Linked DNA regions of Homo sapiens: regions 2 and 3 are each linked to region 1. The links are contacts of gene promoters, found by promoter capture Hi-C in human tissues and cell types (Jung and others, 2019). All regions are on one chromosome and are shown on one strand. Each heading gives the region's core, a stretch centred on a gene start or on the middle of the fragment in contact. The rest is flanking DNA. Distances are from core to core; before and after follow the strand shown. Region 1 holds the start of ATP1B2 (ATPase Na+/K+ transporting subunit beta 2). Region 2 holds the start of ALOX12B (arachidonate 12-lipoxygenase, 12R type). Region 3 holds the start of SLC2A4 (solute carrier family 2 member 4).

The links. The method cuts DNA at HindIII sites, captures the fragments that hold promoters and counts their contacts. A contact is called where the count stands out against the background at its distance.
Region 2: the fragment with the promoter of ALOX12B here is called in contact with the fragment with the promoter of ATP1B2 in region 1 in 1 of the 25 tissues and cell types used here (stomach).
Region 3: a contact is called between the fragment with the promoter of SLC2A4 here and the fragment with the promoter of ATP1B2 in region 1, in 2 of the 25 tissues and cell types used here (liver and small bowel).

The regions. Positions count from the first base shown.
Region 1 is chr17:7,648,623-7,653,517 of GRCh38, forward strand. ATP1B2 (ATPase Na+/K+ transporting subunit beta 2) reads left to right here and starts at 2,304. Exons shown (of 7, transcript NM_001678.5): 1 at 2,304-3,008; 2 at 4,752-4,880. The coding sequence starts at 2,897. RefSeq lists enhancers at 956-1,456, 1,457-1,957, 2,232-2,874 and a silencer at 2,214-2,363. The HindIII fragment of the contact is 20,754 bases long and covers 1-4,895 here.
Region 2 is chr17:8,086,365-8,091,259 of GRCh38, forward strand. ALOX12B (arachidonate 12-lipoxygenase, 12R type) reads right to left here and starts at 1,352. Exons shown (of 15, transcript NM_001139.3): 1 at 932-1,352. The coding sequence starts at 1,078. MIR4314 (microRNA 4314) reads left to right here and starts at 1,692; the gene lies at 1,692-1,783. RefSeq lists an enhancer at 380-1,128. The HindIII fragment of the contact is 32,393 bases long and covers 1-4,895 here.
Region 3 is chr17:7,280,468-7,285,362 of GRCh38, forward strand. It overlaps SLC2A4 (solute carrier family 2 member 4), which reads left to right and starts at 1,251. Exons shown (of 11, transcript NM_001042.3): 1 at 1,251-1,500; 2 at 2,778-2,894; 3 at 3,006-3,178; 4 at 3,271-3,395; 5 at 3,507-3,622; 6 at 3,750-3,912; 7 at 4,018-4,205; 8 at 4,368-4,472; 9 at 4,621-4,722. The coding sequence starts at 1,468. RefSeq lists a silencer at 1,215-1,364 and an enhancer at 1,497-2,484. The HindIII fragment of the contact is 23,134 bases long and covers 1-4,895 here.

The DNA of each region.
Region 1 (4,895 bases), core at 1,054-3,553:
GCATTTTTTCCCCTAGGTTTTGAACAAGGGTCCCTGCATTTCCATTTTGCACTGGATCCTGACAATTATGCAGCTGGCCATGCTTCAGTCTATTCTGCAGCAGATTCGGGATTAATTTTCTCAAAATACAGCTTTAATTAGGCCACTCCTCAGCTGAAAGTTCTTCAGTGGCTTCTTATTAGCCTGTAGGATAGAGTCCTGATTCTTCAGTCTAACCTGCAGGGTACTCCGCAATCCACACCCATGCTGTGTCCCCAACCTCCTTTCCCACTAGTCTCCGACTAGTTCTCTCCTGGAGCCAAGCCAGCCACTCCTGGGGTAGACTGTGCTTACTCCTGACTTCACACCTCTGTGCCTTTCATTCCTTTGTCCTGGAAGACTACCTACCCTTCAGAGGCCAGCCCCAACTCCCATTCATTCATTCATTCATTCAATGCATACCATTTTTTTGAGATGGAGTTTTGCTCTTGTCCAGGCTGGAGTGCAGTGACACAATCTCGGCTCACTGCAACCTCCACCTTCCAGGTTCAAGCAATTCTCTTGCCTCAGCCTCCTGAGTAGCTGGGATTACAGGCTCCCACCACCGCACCCGGCTAATTTTTTTAGTTTTAGTAGAGACGCAGTTTCACCATGTTGGCCAGGCTGGTCTTGAACTCCTGACCTCTGGTCTCGAACTCCCTTGCTCAGGTGATCCATTGGCCTCGGCCTCCTATAGAGCTGGGATTACAGGCATGAGCCACTGGGCCTGGCCGAGATAATGATTTTTTTTTTCTCTCTTTTTTTGAGACGAAGTCTCACTCTATTGCCCAAGCTGGAGTGCAATGGCGTGATCTCAGCTCACTGCAAGCTCCGCCTCCCGGGTTCAAGCAATTCTCCTGCTTCAGCCTCCTGAGTAGCTGGGACTACAGGCACCCACCACCATGCCCAGCTAATTTTTTTTTTTTTTTTTATTGAGACGGAAGCTCTGTTGCCCAGGCTGGAGTGCAGTGGAGCGATCTCGGCTCACTGCAAGCTCCGCCTCCCGGGTTCATGCCATTCTCCTGCCTCAGCCTCCCAAGTAGCTGGGACTACAAGCTCCCGCCACGACGCCCAGCTAATTTTTTTTTTTTGTATTTTTAGTAGGGACGGGGTTTCACTGTGTTATCCAGGATGGTCTCGATCTCCTGACCTCGTGATCCACCCACCTCGGCCTCCCAAAGTGCTGGGATTACTGGCGTGAGCCACCGCGCCTGGCCTAATTTTGCATTTTTAAGTAGAGACGGGGTTTCACCATGTGGGCAAGGCTAGTCTCGAACTCCTGACTTCGTGATCTGCCCGCCTCGGCCTCCCAAAATGCTGGGATTACAGGCATAAGCCACCGTGCCCGGCTTGAGATAATGATTCTTAACATGTGGTATGTAGAGCAAGTGTACTCCCGCCCTAGACTGTGAGCCCCGTGAGAGATGTGGCTTCAGTGTAACCTCTCTGGCCTCCCCAGGGCTACAGCACACAGTCTATAGAGGTGCTCAATAAATGTTTGTTGACCCAAGTAGACACATAAGGAGGTGAGTTCCGACGTGGGGGTGGGGGTGCCAGGAGGCAGAGAACCGAAGTAGACCTGGCTGCAGGGCTGGGATCTCAGGGCAGTGCTGGGGACTGGGAATGTGGTGTTGAGAGGGCTTCAGGGAGACGTGATGGGAAGATGGGGAAGCCTCTGCACGTGGACAGAGCCAGGTGGTGTGGACAGGGGCTGTGAGATTGGAGAAGGAGGCGTCTGGGGGACTGGTAGCGGCTCCCAACAGGGGAACGTCCCTCTGGGGGTGGCCTTTATCCATCTCTGCGGGGCCTGTCCTAGCTTCCCTCCTGGCTCGGCCAGCCTCCCGGCTGGTCTCTTCGCTCTCTTTCTTGATCTCTAGCTCTTTATTCCTCTGACATTCTGCCCCATCTGCTCCCGGACTCTTCCGCCGCATCTGTATCTTAGTCTCTTTCTAACTCCCTGCCTGGGGCCCCCACCTTTGAGCATATATCGGCTTCTCTCTCTGCCGTTGTGTTTCTCTGGGGTTATCTTTCCCTCTACTCCGCCCGGACACGCCCTCTATCTCTTCCTCCCACCCTGTCCCAGTCTAGTACCTGGGGTGGGGGTAATGGAGAGACAGCTAGGTCCCTAAGAGAAGTCAGGGGGGCGGGCCCAACCTCTCCATATTTACATATGTATGAGGTCGCCTGGGCCAGTGGCGAGGAGGCGGAGCTTCTGGGGGTGGGAAGGGGGCGGGCACCCCCAGAGCCGCAGAGTATAAAGACCGCGCTCGGCGACCGCGGGCCTCGCACTGCTGAGGAGCGGAGCCTCCGCCTGGGGGGCCCCCCATCCCTGGCTGTCCCCCAGCTGCGCGTCCCCGCCCCACCCCCGCGGCTGAGCCACCACCGGTGCAGTGGTCTCCGCTTGGCGGAGCGAGCCTTGAGCTTCGTTCCACAGCTTCTTTGCATCTTGGATTTCGGGGCGGCCCCCTCCCCCACCTCTCTCTGCCTTTTTGTACCCCGCTTTTTTTCTGCGTTCTGCTCGGTTTTTGTAGCCGTCTGTTTTTGCACCCCATTTCGTTTTGTTTCTAGACGGTTTGGTGGGGGGTGAAGCTGCATTCATACCCCTTCCTCTTGTTATTCTCCCCTGCTCTGACAGCACCCCTTTTCATCGCAGTTGGGGGGCCTAGGATCGGTGCATCTTCCGCCGCGCTGCCAGCACCCCGCAGCGCGTGGTCGTGCACCCCGGAATCTGCAGCAGCTGCATATCTGAGGGGGGTCTCCTTTGCCCGCGCCGCCTTCGCTCCCCGTGCTTTTGGGTGTGTGGAGGGCTTCAGCGCGCGGCGCCCCCGCTTCTCCGCAACCCCCCGCCCCGCGCCCGGACTCGCCCCGCGCCACCAAGATGGTCATCCAGAAAGAGAAGAAGAGCTGCGGGCAGGTGGTTGAGGAGTGGAAGGAGTTCGTGTGGAACCCGAGGACGCACCAGTTTATGGGCCGCACCGGGACCAGCTGGGGTACGCAGGGCCGGCACGCAAGGGGCGGGGGAAAGCCGCGGGGCGACGCCTCGGGGGCGCAGGGTCCCGCCGACGCGGCCCCAGCTCCCCTCCCGGGTCCCCGGCGTCCAGCCTCCCTGCCGGGCTCTGGGCTGGGAGGGGGCCGAATCGCCAGTCTAATCTCCCCGGCTGGCCGTGCGGAGGCGGAGAAAGTAGGTCACAGCCGCCTTCCCGCCCCCCGCGGAGCCCCCTCGGGCGGGGGGTCGCCAGCTCCGCCTGCGTGTCCGCGCCGGCGCTCACACTCCCTCTCGGGGCCTGTCCGCTCCACACGGGCGTCCCCCACCTCCAAAGAGCGCCCCTTCCCTCCCTCCGGCTCTCACTAGCTCCGCAGCCCCGTCTATTTTTAGCTCGTGCCCACCCCCTGGACCCTGGGAACGTTCATGAGGGGGCGGGTCTTGGGGGGTGTGTTAGGGGGGTTCTTCACGGCGGAAGTTGTCTGTATCCCACCGCCTGGCCTTGGGAGCCTTCTGGGACTGCTTTGTGGGTTGGGGGGCTGCTGATAGTATGAGTTTTACCGAGGCTGCAGGTTTTGCTCCCATGTCGGTGACGGAGGGAGGAGTGGTCGCTGTGGTGATTTGTGTGCATCAGCCAGCCAGGTGTCTGTGACAGTCGGATGACTTGGAAGCCTCCCCAGGCTGACCATGGCAGGACTCAGGGAGCTGTAGTGGTCGGGGGTTGGGGGGGTGGAGGGGGTCTGGTGACCGGCACAGGTGCAGGTGAGGGGTGGAATTCTTCCAAGAGGGATGGTCAAGCTGGGACGTTGAGACACAGGGGACAGAGGACACTGTGTGACACGATTTACAATCTTTCCACACTGGGCACCGTCCCCATCAGTCCACCCATTCGGGGCCTACACGAAGTGGGTCCCATGCAATCCATTCCCTCAGGGAACTCAAACTCCAGCCCCTGGGATGAGAAGAATCCAGCAATGCTTGGGAGAGCCAGAGGACTTCATGGAAGAAGTGTCCTCTGAGATGGAAGGATTGGGAGTCCAGGGTGGTGGGAACAGCCGGCCCTTGGGTCCTTACTTCAGGCGGGGGAGCCATGGAGAGATCCCACCAAGGGAAGGCTGTGGGAGATTCTGCCTTTCCTCCCTGCCTCTGCCCAGGGTGCTGGGTGTGAACTGAGGGTGGGGTGACTGTTGAAGGTTCTAACAAGCCGTCTCTGAGAGATTTGTAGCTAGGCTAGTGTTAGGTCTTTCATTTCAGGAACTGTGTTCAAAGTTTGGCTTCTGAAGGGCACCAGGAGAGAGATGTTGCTATTCAAATCTGAGGGTCCAGTCTCTGCGGGGTGGTATGAGGGTTTGCTTGTGAATGGTGGCCAGTACCCGCTTTAAAAGGCACCATGCTAGCACAGCTTTAAGCATGAGTACGAATGCAGAGGTAACAGATGTGTGCCTTGTCAGGACTATGCATGGTTGAGAAGTTGGAAATGTAATTGGAGGCAAAATAACAGACCTCCACAAGGTCGGGCTTCACTGTGCCCTAGGACCAGGAGGGGGCTGGGAGTCATGGCTAGAAGCCAGACACAACTGCCTGTTTCCAGTTTGTCTCATTTTGCCTCCAGAGGAAGGCTCTAAGACATCCCTGTGGCTCTGTGATCAGTCCCAGTGCAGAACTTCAGAGTGGGTAGAGGGGTGTGTGGGGATAGTTGAGGTTATGGTGGGAACCTTGGGCCCTGCTGACCCTGTTTCCTCCTCCCTAGCCTTTATCCTCCTCTTCTACCTCGTTTTTTATGGGTTCCTCACCGCCATGTTCACCCTCACCATGTGGGTGATGCTGCAGACTGTCTCCGACCATACCCCCAAGTACCAGGACCGACTGGCCACACCGGGTGAGTGTGGAGGCT
Region 2 (4,895 bases), core at 102-2,601, 440 kb after region 1:
GATCATTGAGCTTCCTTCTGACTTCTCCAGCTTGGGGGTCTCCTACTGGATTCCTCTACCCAGGGCTATGTAGGACTCCAGCCCCTCCTTCTCTCCATCCCCAGCTCCTGTCTTCTCCCACTCCCCTCTCCAGGCACCTGAGGTTGCAGGAACCCTTCAGACCCCTGGGGACTTGGGTACCACTCTACAGTTTTCGAGTGGGGAGAGGCCCAGCCAGCCCCTTCTCCCATTCATCAATGAAGATGCAGATATTCAGAATGGCCACATAGATAGAGTGACCTATTAAGGTCGCCTAGCAGCAGGTGGCTGGGTCTGACTGAAAATCAGGTCTGAGGACCCGCAAAGCGTGCCTTCCACTGGACAGGCTGGTCTGATGCCATTTTAAGTCACAGAGAATCCAGTGCAAATGTGAGACAGTTAGGAGGCAGCTGAATTAGGAAGAGTGACTGAGAATGGAAGAGAGAGGGATGCGGGAGAGGGGGTAAGACAGAAAGGGGAGGAGAGCAAAGGGGAAGGAAAGCAGGTGGAAAGGATTGAGAAAAGAGAGATGCAGGATAGGCAGAGACAGGGAGAGAGGGCTGAGGAAGAGGGAGAGAGAAGAAAAGGATGGGGAGGGAGATGAGGAATGCCTGAAAGGGTTAGAGATGAAGGAGCAGGATGGAGAAGGATGGCCCAGAGATCTGGGACATGGGCGAGGGGCTGGAAGCCAGCTCTGGACAAGGCGTGTAGAGCCACTGGGGAGCCCACTGCCTTCGGAGCTGTGCCTCAGCTCTCCAGCCTCTCCTCGCCAAGCTCAGCTCACCTGGCTCCCCCTGCGCACCTTCACCCCTCCCGGGGCCACAAAGACACACAGACACACACAGACACACACAGACACACACACACACACACACAGACACACACACACACACACACACACACACACTCTTACCGCCCCAGTTGCAAAGTCTCTCCCAAAGTGGTTCAGCAGCTGCTTATGGCTCTCTCCTTGTGTCCCCACAATGGTCAGTGAGATGGAGTCCCGTGTTCCCGACAAGAGGTCGGTGCCTGTGGCCACCCTGACTTTGTAGGTGGCCATGGCTGCTCTTCAGGAGGCAAGAGGGGCACTCAGTCCCAGACACCGTGGAGGGGCCACACGAAGGCCCAAGGCAGGCAAGAGAAGCCAGGCACAGAGTGGAGTGGACAGGGCTGGCCTCCGAGGTGCAGTGGTGAGGTGGCGAGGTGGGGTGACTAGGCCTGCCAGCCAAATTCTGGAAAAGCTGCTGCCCTTGGTGGCCGGGGTGGGTGCCGGGCAGGCCCAGGCGGAGCCCAGCTGGTGGTGAGTGAGCAGGTGTCTGGGCTCCAAGCCTTCTGGGAGCTGGTGGGGAGGAAGAGCAGGCAGGGCACTGGGCCTGCCTCTGAAAGGGCGGATAGAAGATGCCGTGGATGAAGGCGCCTTCAGGGTGGGGGAGCCAGTCCAGCCTGAGCCAGGGCCCTAGGGAAGTTGCGGGAGGGGGCAGGGTGTGGTCCCCAGATCTTTATCAGACTAATAAGCTCCTTCCTCCTGCCAGTCCCCATTGGCTACAGTGCCAGGCACCCCTACTAAGCAGGGCCATGGGCAGTGAGTGACTTGCATTGGTTCTGAGGCCACTGGTGGGCGGGGGAGGGGAGGGGGAGGGGCACTAAGTGGCAGCGCAGCTGGCCAGCCTCCAGGCCATTCCTCTCTGGGAAATGGGACAGGTAGTGGCCACAGTGAGAAAGCTGGCCTGTCCTTCTGCCCCAGGGCCCAGAGTCTGTGACTGGAAGGGTGGGAGGTGTTGAAGCTAGGGCTCGGGGACCACATGGGTGCCCAAAGGCCTGAAGATGCTGCGGGGAGGAACGATCAGGGTAGGAGAAGGGGATCTGTTGCTTCCTGTGGGGCCAGGATCCACTGGTGAGGGATTGGAGTTGGATATAAAATCAGAAGCCCAAAAAAAAAAAAAAAAAAACTAAATTAGAAGACAGAGTGAAATCTGGGGCATAAGAATTAAGTTAAATAGCTGGGCGTGGTGGCTCACGCCTGTAATCCCAGCACTTTAGAAAGCCAAGGCAGGTGGGTCACCTGAGCTCAAGAGTTCGAGACCAGCCTGGCCAACATGGTGAAACCTTGTCTCTACTAAAAATACAAAAATTAGCCAGGCGTGGTGGCATGCGCCTGTAGTCCCAGCTACTTGGGAGGCTGAGGCAGGAGAATCGCTTGAACTCAGGAGGCGGAAGTTGCAGTGAGTTGAGATCGTGCCACCGCACTCCAGCCTGGGCAACAGAGCAAGACTCCGTCTCCAAAAAAAAAAGACAAAAGAATTAAGTTAAATAATGGATTAATATGATCAATATTTTGTGGTATAATCATAAAATAGAATTCTACCCAGGAATAAAAAGAATGAACTGCAATGCGGATGAGTCTCACAAAGATGATACTGAGCAAAAAGAGCCAGACATTAAAGGGGATACGTTCTGTTATCCATTGATAGGAACTTCCAGAACCAGCAAAACTGAGCAATTCTCAGACAACCTCTACTGGTGAGTATCCCTGGCAGAGGGAGGCCATATAGGCTGCTGGAGGTGTTCTTATCTTGATCTGAGGGGCGTCTAGGGTACTTCATTCATTTCATTATGTGTTATCCTTTAATTTCATAAAGTACATACCCTCACTTCCCTCCCAAAAAAGAATGAAGCTAGGAAGAGGGCTGGAGGCAGGGCTGAGCTCCAGTGGAACTGTGTTTGTTGGGAACCAGGTCGTTCCTCCCTCAGATATGTAGTGAGCACGGTGCACGGCGTTCTAGGCACTGCAGAGGCAGAGAAGAAATGAAACATACATGGAGCTTACGGAATAGCTGGGAAAGAAGTGAAAGAAACAGTAAACAAGAATTTGTTCACTATAATTTTGGATACTAAGTGCTCTGAAGAAAATAAGCGTGGGAGGTTGGGATTGGGAACTAGTTGCTGATAGAATCACAGAAGTCAGAGCCGCAGGATAGGGAGAAGGTGTTAGGAGTAAGGTGAAGAGCATTATGAGAGAGTCAGAGATAGACTCTCCAAAGATAGGATTTGGGACCCAGGGAGAGTGAGGAGGCAGGCACGTTCCTATTCCCTTTTTCTGGACCTGTCCTCTTTCCTTTCACCTCCGAGGAGCAGCTTCTGTCAACCAGGAAGCATAGCCCTGCTTTCCTCCCTGATGGCACGCTTCCATCACCATCGAAGGAAGGTCATTCAATGCCCAGGCCAAGTTAGGGTCAGAGGGGGCTGGGATTGTGAGATGAAGAGAAGGTTCCAGTAGGTTCCAGACTGGATGTGGAATGGGGTCGAAACTGCAATTCAGGTTTAGGTTAGAGACACAGATGTGGCTGGAGTTGGGGATTGAAATGATCTTTTCCAGACCCAAATCTGTTCACATCACTCTCTATGTTCCCTCCTCCCAACCCTGATCAAGCCTGGCAGTGGCTCCTCTTTACCTTTGGGACAGTGACACCATCCCCTCCCGTGGCCCCCACGGCCTGCCTGATTGGCTTCACCCCTCACATTCCCCTTTGCTCTCTTCTGTCTGGGACCACGTGCCTTTCATTCATTCATCAACAGACACTGGCCGAACCCCTACTGTGTGTTCAGCGCTGTGTCAGGTCCTGAAAATACAATGCGATCAAAGCAAACCCCTGCACCCATGGAGCTTGCCTTCAAGTGAGGGAAGCAGACAATATTACCTAGTAACCAAATACATTAAATAGTATGTTAAATAGTGATAAGTGCTGAAGAGAAAAGAGAGAACAGGGAAGGATAATATAAAAAATAGAGGAGTGCCGGGCATGGTGGCTCATGCCTGTAATCCCAGCACTTTGGGAGGCTGAGGTGGGCGGATCACCTGAGGTCAGGAGTTCGGGACCAGCCTGACCAACATGGAGTAACCCCGTCTCTACTAAAAATAAAAATTAGCCGGGCATGGTGGCGCATGCCTGTAATCCCAGCTACTCGGGGGCTGAGGCAGGAGAATAGCTTGAACCCAGGAAGCAGAGGTTGCAGTGAGCCAAGGTCATGCCATTGCTATCAAGCCTGGGCAACAAAAGCGAAAATCCATCTCAGAAAAAAGAAAAGGAGGATATTTTAGATACAGAGTGGCCAAGGAGGGCTCCTTGGGAAGAAGACTTTTGAGTAAAGACCTGAAGGAAGTGAAGTCAGCTCGTCACCATCCCAGGGCCTTGGCACATGCTGTTCCCTCTCTACCTCTCAAACTGAGGTCACGTTTCCTCTTCCTCCTGATCTTAGCTCAATAATTGCTTTTTCCAGGAAAGCCAAATTTCACTATACATGGCTCTCACAGCACTATAGCTAACATCTTTGATTGATGTCTGTTTTCTCTAATAAATTAGTCCATACTTTTTTTTGGTTTTGTCCCCATCTCCTGGTGTCATACTTGGTACCTGGGAGACACCGAAAACATAGTTGAATGGGTTAATGACAAGGACAAGGTCAGGGCTGGGGATTGAATCGATGATGGCTTTGGAGTTATGGTGAAGATCCGAAGAGAGCTGACTTGGGCTCAGGGTGAGAGAAGGGGCAAGGCGTGGTGTAGGGGAGGGAAAGGGGTTGGGTGGGGAGGGAGGGAGGAGAGGGGAGAAGGCTGAGGATGAGGGTTGTGCCCAGCTCTGGGTGGCAGGGCTGGCTGTCCTGGGCTGCAGACAGAAGCCGTCCAGCTGGATCTCCCCCCTGGGATCTCCCTCCTCAACCACCTCGATGACTCTTGGAGGATGCTGGGAGCCTGAAGATGCAAATCTTAAGATGCAAATTCCATGCAAATTCTCCCAGCTTCCTCTTTCTAATCTCTCCCCTTTGCCCTGTGTCCCCAGGGGGCTGCTGAGGCTTGGTGAGAAGCAGGGCAGTGGACT
Region 3 (4,895 bases), core at 1-2,500, 370 kb before region 1:
AGGAGGAATCGAGCCTGACTTCTACCATAGGGGTGACTGGGCGGGTAATTCATTGAAATAAGGAAGTTAGGAGGAGGAGCAGGTTTGGACATGCTGATCACTAGAGCTGCCACATCCGGGCGGTAACGAACACCTGGATCTGCAGCTCCAGAGAAGGGCCTGGGTCAGATGTCACTGAAGCCCTATGGTGGCGGAAAGGCGAGAAATAGTGGGTTGAGATTCCAAGTGCAATCCACTGCGGCTCCTCGCTCGCCCTCCAGGTGGCAGCACAACCCTGCGCTTCCGAAGCCCGTTTTCTGAGCCAGACACTCTCCACGCTCTGGGTATTTCGGCTTCTCTCTCCCCACACGCCGACCCTAGGTCGCGCACTTTCTGCCTGGCAGAATTTGGCCGAGGATCCAAACCCGGAGCAGCCTCCAGAGAGCGTGTCGTTCACGCGGCCAGCATATGCTCAGAGACCTCAGAGGCTCAGAGACCTCAGGGCTGGTGGTGTGGTCGGTTGTGACCACTTGTCCCTCGGACCGGCTCCAGGAACCAACCTGGGGAATGTGTGTAGGGGAAGGGCGGGATAGACAGTGCCCGGAGCAGGGAGGCGCTGAAAGACAGGACCAAGCAGCCCGGCCACCAGACCCGTTGTGGGAACGGAATTTCCTGGCCCCCAGGGCCACACTCGCGTGGGAAGCATGTCGCGGACTCTTTAAGGCGTCATCTCCCTGTCTCTCCGCCCCCGCCTGGGACAGGCCGGGACGCCCGGGACCTGACATTTGGAGGCTCCCAACGTGGGAGCTAAAAATAGCAGCCCCGGGTTACTTTGGGGCATTGCTCCTCTCCCAACCCGCGCGCCGGCTCGCGAGCCGTCTCAGGCCGCTGGAGTTTCCCCGGGGCAAGTACACCTGGCCCGTCCTCTCCTCTCAGACCCCACTGTCCAGACCCGCAGAGTTTAAGATGCTTCTGCAGCCCGGGATCCTAGCTGGTGGGCGGAGTCCTAACACGTGGGTGGGCGGGGCCTTTTGTTCCAGGGACTCTTTTCTCAAAACTTCCCAGTCGGAGGCTGGCGGGAACCCGAGAGGCGTGTCTCGCCAGCCACGCGGAGGGGCGTGGCCTCATTGGCCCGCCCCACCAACTCCAGCCAAACTCTAAACCCCAGGCGGAGGGGGCGTGGCCTTCTGGGGTGTGCGGGCTCCTGGCCAATGGGTGCTGTGAAGGGCGTGGCCCGCGGGGGCAGGAGCGAGGTGGCGGGGGCTTCTCGCGTCTTTTCCCCCAGCCCCGCTCCACCAGATCCGCGGGAGCCCCACTGCTCTCCGGGTCCTTGGCTTGTGGCTGTGGGTCCCATCGGGCCCGCCCTCGCACGTCACTCCGGGACCCCCGCGGCCTCCGCAGGTTCTGCGCTCCAGGCCGGAGTCAGAGACTCCAGGATCGGTTCTTTCATCTTCGCCGCCCCTGCGCGTCCAGCTCTTCTAAGACGAGATGCCGTCGGGCTTCCAACAGATAGGCTCCGAAGTAGGATTCATCATGAGGGGGCGGGGCGGGGGGGCACGGGTCCCGCTTTTCTTGGGCTGGGGTCGCGGTTGGGGTCAGCTGGGGGTGGTTCCTGCGCAGGCGCAGGGGGTGAAGGTAGGGGGCTGGCTATTTATACCCGGCCTGGACAACCCGTGACTGTGAGATTCCAATCCTACCAAAAGGCAGAGTGGGTCTGGAGGGCCTTTCGGGGCACAGGCAGCAAGTGGATTCTGCGAGCCAGGGTTCACCCCCTTGCCTAGTAGGCGGCGCGGCGCTCCGGAATCGGGGACACCCTGCCCTCGATCCGACTCGGGAAAGCAGATCCAGGCGGGTCTTGCCCTCCGGGAGCTGTCCGTCCGTCTTCGCTCACGGGCAGTGTTTCGAGGACCGGAGGCTCTCCGTGGGCCCCCACCCCCACTCCTGGCCGCCCTCCAGGACGCTGAACTTTCCCTTGGCCCCATGGTTGGTGGAGGGGCAGAGGGGACTGTCAGCCCCCCCTCCTCCAGCTCAGGTTTCCGCTTGGAGACAGTCTGTGCCGCCAGCGAGCGGCCACCACTGCCACCGCCCCTCACACTACCTTCCTGCCCTCCTCCCCTGGGCATGGCTCTCCCAGGCAGAACCCCTGGACGGCCCTCCCTGCACGGAGGTTAGAGGGGGAGGGCAGGCCACGACGTAGATAGAGAAGGCCACCCCTAGATGACCGGGATGTCCTTTCTGGAACAGCACTTCTTGGTCCTGTTGGGGGCCTCCTGGAGCTGGCTGACAGAACCCCCAGAGGGGAGGGAAGAGGACAGTGGCTGATGATAATAATGCACGTGTTAATTTATGAAACCAGCACTGTCAAGGATATTGTTAACATGTGATGTTGATTTTCACAACACTCTCACAGATAGGTAGGCAAGGCAGGCAACATCACCCCCATCTCACAGAGGACACTCAGGTTCGGGGCAGGGAAGTGACTTGGCCAAGGTCACACAAATCTGAGCTCTTAAGGCCAAGCCTGTCTCAAGGTCACAGAAGAATTTTGAGACAAGTTCTCAAACATTTCTCTGCCTTATGGACCCAAACATCCAGTTTCTCCTTTATGCCCAGGTTGCAGTTCAGCTCCTGTTTACATTGAGATCTTTGTGCAATTCCTAATATGGCCCAGTTTCCCTCACCCAACATGTTGGGTGGAGCCCAGTATCTTCAGGCTCCAGCTGGGCCCGGGCCCCTAGCGGAAGGAAAAAAATCATGGTTCCATGTGACATGCTGTGTCTTTGTGTCTGCCTGTTCAGGATGGGGAACCCCCTCAGCAGCGAGTGACTGGGACCCTGGTCCTTGCTGTGTTCTCTGCGGTGCTTGGCTCCCTGCAGTTTGGGTACAACATTGGGGTCATCAATGCCCCTCAGAAGGTGAGGGCCTGCAGCTGGCAGGGTGGGGGTACCCAAACGAGGAGGACAGGTGTCTCGGGGGTGGTGGAAAGGGGACGGTCTGCAGGAAATCTGTCCTCTGCTGTCCCCCAGGTGATTGAACAGAGCTACAATGAGACGTGGCTGGGGAGGCAGGGGCCTGAGGGACCCAGCTCCATCCCTCCAGGCACCCTCACCACCCTCTGGGCCCTCTCCGTGGCCATCTTTTCCGTGGGCGGCATGATTTCCTCCTTCCTCATTGGTATCATCTCTCAGTGGCTTGGAAGGTTCGCAGCTGGAGGGCAGGGGTGGGGGAAACAGGAAGGGAGCCACTGCTGGGTGCCCTCACCCTCACAGCCTCACTCTGTCTGCCTGCCAGGAAAAGGGCCATGCTGGTCAACAATGTCCTGGCGGTGCTGGGGGGCAGCCTCATGGGCCTGGCCAATGCTGCTGCCTCCTATGAAATGCTCATCCTTGGACGATTCCTCATTGGCGCCTACTCAGGTACTCACGGGCACCACAGCCCTGCCTAGCGCCCTGTTCTCTTTCACCATGCCTGGGCTTTCAGATGGGAATGGACACCTGCCCTCAGCCCTCTCTTCTTCCCTCGCCCAGGGCTGACATCAGGGCTGGTGCCCATGTACGTGGGGGAGATTGCTCCCACTCACCTGCGGGGCGCCCTGGGGACGCTCAACCAACTGGCCATTGTTATCGGCATTCTGATCGCCCAGGTGACCGGAGCAAGCCTCATGGGTGCCTGGGCAGTGGTTAGAGTGGGGCTCTGGAGAATATGGTGGGCTTCCAAGGTAAGGCAGAAGGGCTGAGTGACCTGCCTTCTTTCCCAACCTTCTCCCACAGGTGCTGGGCTTGGAGTCCCTCCTGGGCACTGCCAGCCTGTGGCCACTGCTCCTGGGCCTCACAGTGCTACCTGCCCTCCTGCAGCTGGTCCTGCTGCCCTTCTGTCCCGAGAGCCCCCGCTACCTCTACATCATCCAGAATCTCGAGGGGCCTGCCAGAAAGAGTAAGCTCTCCCGCTGCAGCCTGGCCCAGGCCCATGCCTCCGCCTCATCTTGCTAGCACCTGGCTTCCTCTCAGGTCCCCTCAGGCCTGACCTTCCCTTCTCCAGGTCTGAAGCGCCTGACAGGCTGGGCCGATGTTTCTGGAGTGCTGGCTGAGCTGAAGGATGAGAAGCGGAAGCTGGAGCGTGAGCGGCCACTGTCCCTGCTCCAGCTCCTGGGCAGCCGTACCCACCGGCAGCCCCTGATCATTGCGGTCGTGCTGCAGCTGAGCCAGCAGCTCTCTGGCATCAATGCTGTATGTGTGGAGCAGCCTCCAGGCAGGGCACAGCCCCGGGAGGGTAGACGAGAGTGGGGAGCAAACCCCCTCCACCAACACCCAGGGTAGGGCCAGCCTGTTGTGGCTGGAGTAGAGGAAGGGGCATTCCTGCCATCACTTCTTCTTCTCCCCCACCTCTAGGTTTTCTATTATTCGACCAGCATCTTCGAGACAGCAGGGGTAGGCCAGCCTGCCTATGCCACCATAGGAGCTGGTGTGGTCAACACAGTCTTCACCTTGGTCTCGGTAACTGCTCACCTCTGGAATGGCCCGAGCCACTGGCTTCACCTCCCTGGGTGTCCCGGAGGTCCTGCTCTTGGTTGCCCTCACCCACGCGGCCCCTCCTACTTCCCGTGCCCAAAAGGCTGGGGTCAAGCTCCGACTCTCCCCGCAGGTGTTGTTGGTGGAGCGGGCGGGGCGCCGGACGCTCCATCTCCTGGGCCTGGCGGGCATGTGTGGCTGTGCCATCCTGATGACTGTGGCTCTGCTCCTGCTGGTAAGGCCTGGAGGCTAGGAGGGGCTAGCAGCCCACCCCATGGGAATGGTCCTGTGAGTCTCTGTGACCAGCCAGGGTCCCTTCTTAACACACATGCTTTCAATCCTGGCGCCAGCTCCGGACCAGGACTGGGGCTGACTGGCTCCAGAATCTGCTGGGATTGTGGTCTGCTC